Regions from separate parts of the Homo sapiens genome. Here region 1 is linked to region 2. The links are contacts of gene promoters, found by promoter capture Hi-C in blood cells and fetal thymus (Javierre and others, 2016). All regions are on one chromosome and are shown on one strand. Each heading gives the region's core, a stretch centred on a gene start or on the middle of the fragment in contact. The rest is flanking DNA. Distances are from core to core; before and after follow the strand shown. Region 1 holds the start of MYLIP (myosin regulatory light chain interacting protein). Region 2 holds the start of FAM8A1 (family with sequence similarity 8 member A1).

Evidence for each region. The method cuts DNA at HindIII sites, captures the fragments that hold promoters and counts their contacts. A CHiCAGO score of 5 or more calls a contact.
Region 1: a contact is called between the fragment with the promoter of MYLIP here and the fragment with the promoter of FAM8A1 in region 2, in 1 of 17 cell types (non-activated CD4 T cells). The highest score is 5.2, in non-activated CD4 T cells.

Annotation. Positions count from the first base shown.
Region 1 is chr6:16,127,673-16,130,372 of GRCh38, forward strand. It overlaps MYLIP (myosin regulatory light chain interacting protein), which reads left to right and starts at 1,414. Exons shown (of 7, transcript NM_013262.4): 1 at 1,414-1,737. The coding sequence starts at 1,651. RefSeq lists a silencer at 1,096-2,095. The HindIII fragment of the contact is 2,730 bases long and covers 1-2,443 here.
Region 2 is chr6:17,598,881-17,601,580 of GRCh38, forward strand. It overlaps FAM8A1 (family with sequence similarity 8 member A1), which reads left to right and starts at 1,422. Exons shown (of 5, transcript NM_016255.3): 1 at 1,422-2,241. The coding sequence starts at 1,530. LOC102724591 (a long non-coding RNA gene) reads right to left here and starts at 96. Exons shown (of 5, transcript XR_007059485.1): 1 at 1-96. RefSeq lists a silencer at 1,281-1,760. The HindIII fragment of the contact is 5,181 bases long and covers 1-2,700 here.

The sequences.
Region 1 (2,700 bases), core at 164-2,663, 1.5 Mb before region 2:
TGCTGGGCTCAGGCGATCCTCCTGCCTCGGCCTCCAAAAGTGCTGGGATTACAGGTGTGAGCCATCGAGCTGGCCTGAAGTAAGTTTGCTAAGTTTCCACGGCTGAAACCCACATCATCTGGCTCCTATAAAGAAATCAAAAAGGTAGGCTATGTAATATATTGGCAAAGAGGAACAAGCGGTAAATGAGTGAAGGGTTGTAGACCTTTAATAGCTAATATTGCAGTAATGCCACCTGTTAGGTCAGGAGATGAGCACCTTACCTTAAGACGAGGACAACATCTGGTTGCCTGTGAGAAGGGACAGGCAGGGTATCAGGTGCTGCACAAATGTTTAATGAATGAGTGAGATAAGACAGGAGGTAGAATGAGCAACCTGAGAGAGGGCCTGGTACCCTGTAAGGCGTTTTGATTCAGCAGAACGAGTAAGGAGAAGCCCTTCCGGAGTGTAACACACCAGCACTAGACCAAGACACCTGGCTCACTGGTCAGCTGCAAAAACTTTCATACTCAGATTTTGTTTTTCTCAATGATGAGGTCTTAATAAGGAACAACAATTCTGCCTCCAAGCAACCCACTGTGGCTAATCCTGGTGGAAAAGAGTTTTCTTTTTCTCTTTTTTTTTTCTTTTTTCTTTTTCTTTTCTTTTTTTTTTTTTTTTTTTTTTTTTTTTTGAGACAGGGTTTTTTGCTCTTCTTGCCCAAGCTACAGTGCAGTGACACAATCTCAGCTCACTGCAACCTCCGCCTCCTGGGTTCAAGCGATTCTCCTGCCTCAGCCTCCCAGGTAGCTGGGATTACAGGTGCCCGCCACCACGCCTGGCTATTTTGTTTTTTTTTTTGTATTTTTAGTAGAGACGGGGGTTTCACCATGTTTGCCAGGCTGGTCTCGAATCTGACCTCAGGTGATCCACCCATCTCGGCCTCCCAAAGTGCTGGGATTACAGGCGTGAGCCACCATGCCCGGACGAGAACAGTTTTCTTTAGGCTTTGGGTTGCTCCTTTTCCTTTTTGCTTTCACAACCGAAATGCGTGCTCAGAGTGATCCAAGATATTTGAAGAACAGTGGCAGCTTGGAGGTGTTTAATCACCGTAAATTCGAGACGGCAGAAAGGCGTCCCCGCCTGGAGCCCCGGGCGATCGCTCACTCTGAGCAGCGTCGCCCAGCGGACAGAGGCGGCTGGTGTGTTCCGGGGTCTCCCTCCCTTCCCGCAGCACTCGGCGCCCGCAAGCTGCCACCTCCCGGGGCGGCCAGGGAAACTCAGCCGGCTCTGGGAGGCGGGGGCCGCGGTCGAGGGGCGCCGCTATTGGCTGATCGGGCGGGGGAGGAGGGGCAGGGAGGCCGTGATTGGCGGGGACCCGAGCTGAAGGGGGCGGGGCCGCTATATCAGCAGAGTCCCTGTCGCAGCGCAGGCAGTTGGGCTGCTGGAGTGCGGCGCCACCGCGGAGGACAGGGGCAGCTGGCGGGCAGCGGGTGAGGGGGTGGCGGGGACGCGAGTGGCGGCCGCGGGGCCCCGGACAAGGGTCCGCAGAGCTGCAGCCTTCGAGGGCCAGCCCTCTCCGAGTCCGGGGCTGGGTCCCACCAGTGACAAGGCGGCAGCCCCGCGCACACCAAAGAGAAGGCGGCTGTGGCGGCAGCGGCAGCCCCAGCCATGCTGTGTTATGTGACGAGGCCGGACGCGGTGCTGATGGAGGTGGAGGTGGAGGCGAAAGCCAACGGCGAGGACTGCCTCAACCAGGTGAGGGCGAGGGGCAAGAAGGGGCCCCGGCGGGTCCCGCGAGGCCGAGGGGCCTCGCAGCGACGCCTGGCACTCTGGCGCGCCCCCTACTAGGGGCCGGGAGGCACTGCGGCGGCAGCCGGGGGGAGCGCGTCCCCTCCTCTCCACGGGCGTGGGGCGCGCGGTCTCCTCCTGGCGCGCGTGGGGTGCGCGGAGAAAGCGCGCAGCGGGGGTCCCCAGCGCTGAGGGCCGGGCGCAGCCCGCAGCCGGGATCCACCCCCCAGCGCCCCATCATCCCCCCAACCCAGCACTTTCCCGGAAGAAGGCGGCTCCGCACACCTGCCGCAGGTATGTGCGTGATGCCGCCTGTCGGGTCCCCGCGGCGCCTGGCAGTGCCACCCGCGTGCCAGGATGGGATGGAGTGGCTCGAAGCAGTCTCGGGCCCCAGGGGTTCTTGGCAGACAAGCCGGGCCCTTGTCTCACGCTGCTTCTCAGGCTGCTGCTCTCAAATGCACCGTTCACCTGCATCTCCGGGTTTGCGGGGGACGGGAGGAATAGGTTTGGGTCATCTACTGCTCGGTTGTTTTTAAGCATGTGTTTCCTTAACAGTGAGGGAGATCGGTGCCAAATAGTGCAGAGGTGGTATGGCAGACAGCACATGTGATCCCAGGAAAACGCTGTGCCCTCAACCCCTCTAGCTCTGAGATGTTTGGAAAACCGCTTGTGAAGCTTAGCTGACACTTGTGGCGTGTTCCCTCAATGTGTTTGATTTTTGGAGTCCAAATGGTTAAAATTGCCCAGATAATAAGTCGCCAAAAATCAGCTGTGCAGAGTATGCTGGTGGAGGGAATTCCGGTGATTGGAATACGAAGGAAAATACCCTGTAGTTTCCCCTCCTCATCTTTTGGAAGGCTACTTTTGAGGACTCCTTTTTTCTCTATTGCAATTGGTCATGCCCTAGACGTTAAAAGGAATTATGAGCCT
Region 2 (2,700 bases), core at 172-2,671:
TCAGAGTGTTTTTTGTCCAGTCATTTTTTTTGAGACGGAGTCTCGCTCTGTCGCCCAGGCTGGAGTGCGGTGACGCAATCTCGGCTCACTGCAAGCTCCGCCTCCCGGGTTCACGCCATTCTCCTGCCTCAGCCTCCTGAGTAGCTGGGACTACAGGCGCCCGCCACCACGCCTGGCTAATTTTTAGTATTTTTAGTAGAGACGGGGTTTCACTGTGTTAGCCAGGATGGTCTCGATCTCCTGACCTTGTGATCCGCCCGCCTCAGCCTCCCAAAGTGCTGAGATTACAGGCGTGAGCCACCGCGCCCGGCCTTGTCCAGTCATTTTTTTATACGGCTGTCCATGCTTTGTTGAACCTAAGCATACAAATACACGATTTCCCTTGTTATCTTTGGGTCTTCATTCTGAAGGCTCCCGTGTCACATAAAACGATGGTCAAATCAATGTCTATGTCTTTTCTCCTATTAACTGCCTCCTGTCAGTGACTTTCAGCGAAACTTCAGAAGGTGAAGCGGAAGTTTTCCTTTGGCCCGGACAGCATCATCATTAATATCATTAATAAATATTCCCACAGTATTTGGCCCTTGTATGTCCTTTGTATGGTGCTGGGGATACAATAACATATCGCTGCAGAGATTTTCAAATGTAAAAGAAGAGAGATTATACTGATTTAAAAGCTAGATTCTGTCCTCACCCTGGAGCTAGTCTGCATTTACGAAAACTTACTTTCCACTGCGGTAGACAGACGCTTTCTACTCCAGCGCAACTGTGCCTTTCCTCAAATCTAGTCTCAAATTTAGGTTCCTTTTCATTTTCTGTTATGGAAAGGCCCTCAGCGTATCCCAGGCTTTGGAGCCTTTTGTTAGTAGTCTGGCCCATGCATAATTTCCCCTTCCTCTGAATTATACATAGCACCTCACTAGTTATATTTTAATACACTTTCCTATGTCTCAGTGGTAGTTTCCTATATTAATATATATCCCAGTTTAGTTTGGCTTTTAATTTCTTTTCTTCTAAGGGGATAGATGCGTTCTGTACCACCTTCTCGAGTACTAATGGTTAACTGGAATGAACACAAGCAACAAACCCTCCGGCCTGGATCCCAAAACAACAGTCGCGGTTCTGCAACAGAAAAGGCTGCGCTGGCCCTGGGACCTGTCTCGGAAATACTCCTCATCCATCTAGTTTCTCCCAGGACAACTAGGCCCAACCCCACGGGAATATACAGAGAGGCCTCGGGTCACAGACTTAAAGCTGTAAAAGGGAGGAGGCGACGGTCTGGTCCCAGTCACCGACCAGCCACCGACTACTAGGGCCCGAACCCGGGACTGCAGACGCACCTCCCCGCCCTCCCTTCCCAGCTCCGCCTGGCGGCGGGCGTTGCTCCTGAGGGGCGGGGCTTCCGCTTCCGGCGGGGGATTGTTGACGCCTGCGGTTGCTGCGGTGGTGACGGGGCTGTTGGGGAGGGGCCATTGGGGGAGGGAAACGGAGCAGTGACAGGTATCCCAGAGGGTGCTGCTGAGGCGACGATGGCCGAGGGGCCCGAGGAAGCCCGAGGCCACCCTCCCGGGCAGGACGATGGCGGAGGGGACCACGAGCCCGTCCCTTCCCTGAGAGGCCCTCCTACCACCGCCGTCCCATGCCCCCGCGACGACCCCCAGGCCGAACCCCAGGCCCCGGGCCGGCCCACAGCCCCGGGCCTCGCGGCTGCCGCCGCAGCCGACAAATTGGAGCCGCCGCGCGAGCTCAGGAAGCGCGGGGAGGCGGCCTCCGGCTCCGGTGCAGAGCTGCAGGAGCAGGCGGGCTGCGAGGCGCCCGAAGCCGCGGCGCCACGAGAGAGACCAGCTCGGCTGAGCGCCCGCGAGTACTCCCGGCAAGTGCACGAGTGGCTGTGGCAGTCCTACTGCGGCTACCTCACCTGGCACAGCGGCCTGGCCGCCTTCCCAGCCTACTGCAGCCCCCAGCCCTCCCCGCAGAGCTTCCCTTCGGGCGGCGCTGCAGTCCCCCAGGCCGCGGCGCCGCCGCCCCCGCAGCTGGGCTATTACAACCCCTTCTACTTCCTGAGCCCCGGGGCCGCGGGGCCTGACCCGCGGACAGCTGCCGGCATCAGCACCCCTGCTCCAGTCGCGGGCCTGGGACCCCGGGCTCCTCACGTGCAGGCGTCGGTCCGGGCCACTCCAGTGACGAGGGTAGGATCCGCAGCCCCTTCGCGAAGCCCGAGCGAGACCGGGCGACAGGCAGGTGAGAAGCGCGAGGTGGAGGCTGGGCGGAGTAGAAGGGTTTTCGGGGGCCTGTGGGGTAGAGCTGGCACGCTTTTTAGACCTGTAACTGCTGCTTCTACTCTGATTGACTATCCTGCCCGTTCAGTTCACTAGCTATCGTTTGTCCAGGCCCTAAATTCCCAAAATGTACAAGGAGGCAATACAGTTTCTTCTTCCTTTAGACCTGGCACTCCAAATTGACTCCCTTACTCATGGGACTAGTTGTTTATTCGTGAAAAGAAATTGCTCTTCAAACCATCCTCTTCCTTTGGTTTTCACGCTCTGCAGTGAGGGCCAAAGCTAAATTCGCAAATGGCAAACCCACTTTTGGAGGGGCTCGACTGGTAATGCTGAAAATTATTCAGACATTGGCTACTTAGGACAGTGGAACTGAACGGATATAAAAGGAGATCGACATGGATACAAGTGGAGTTAGGAA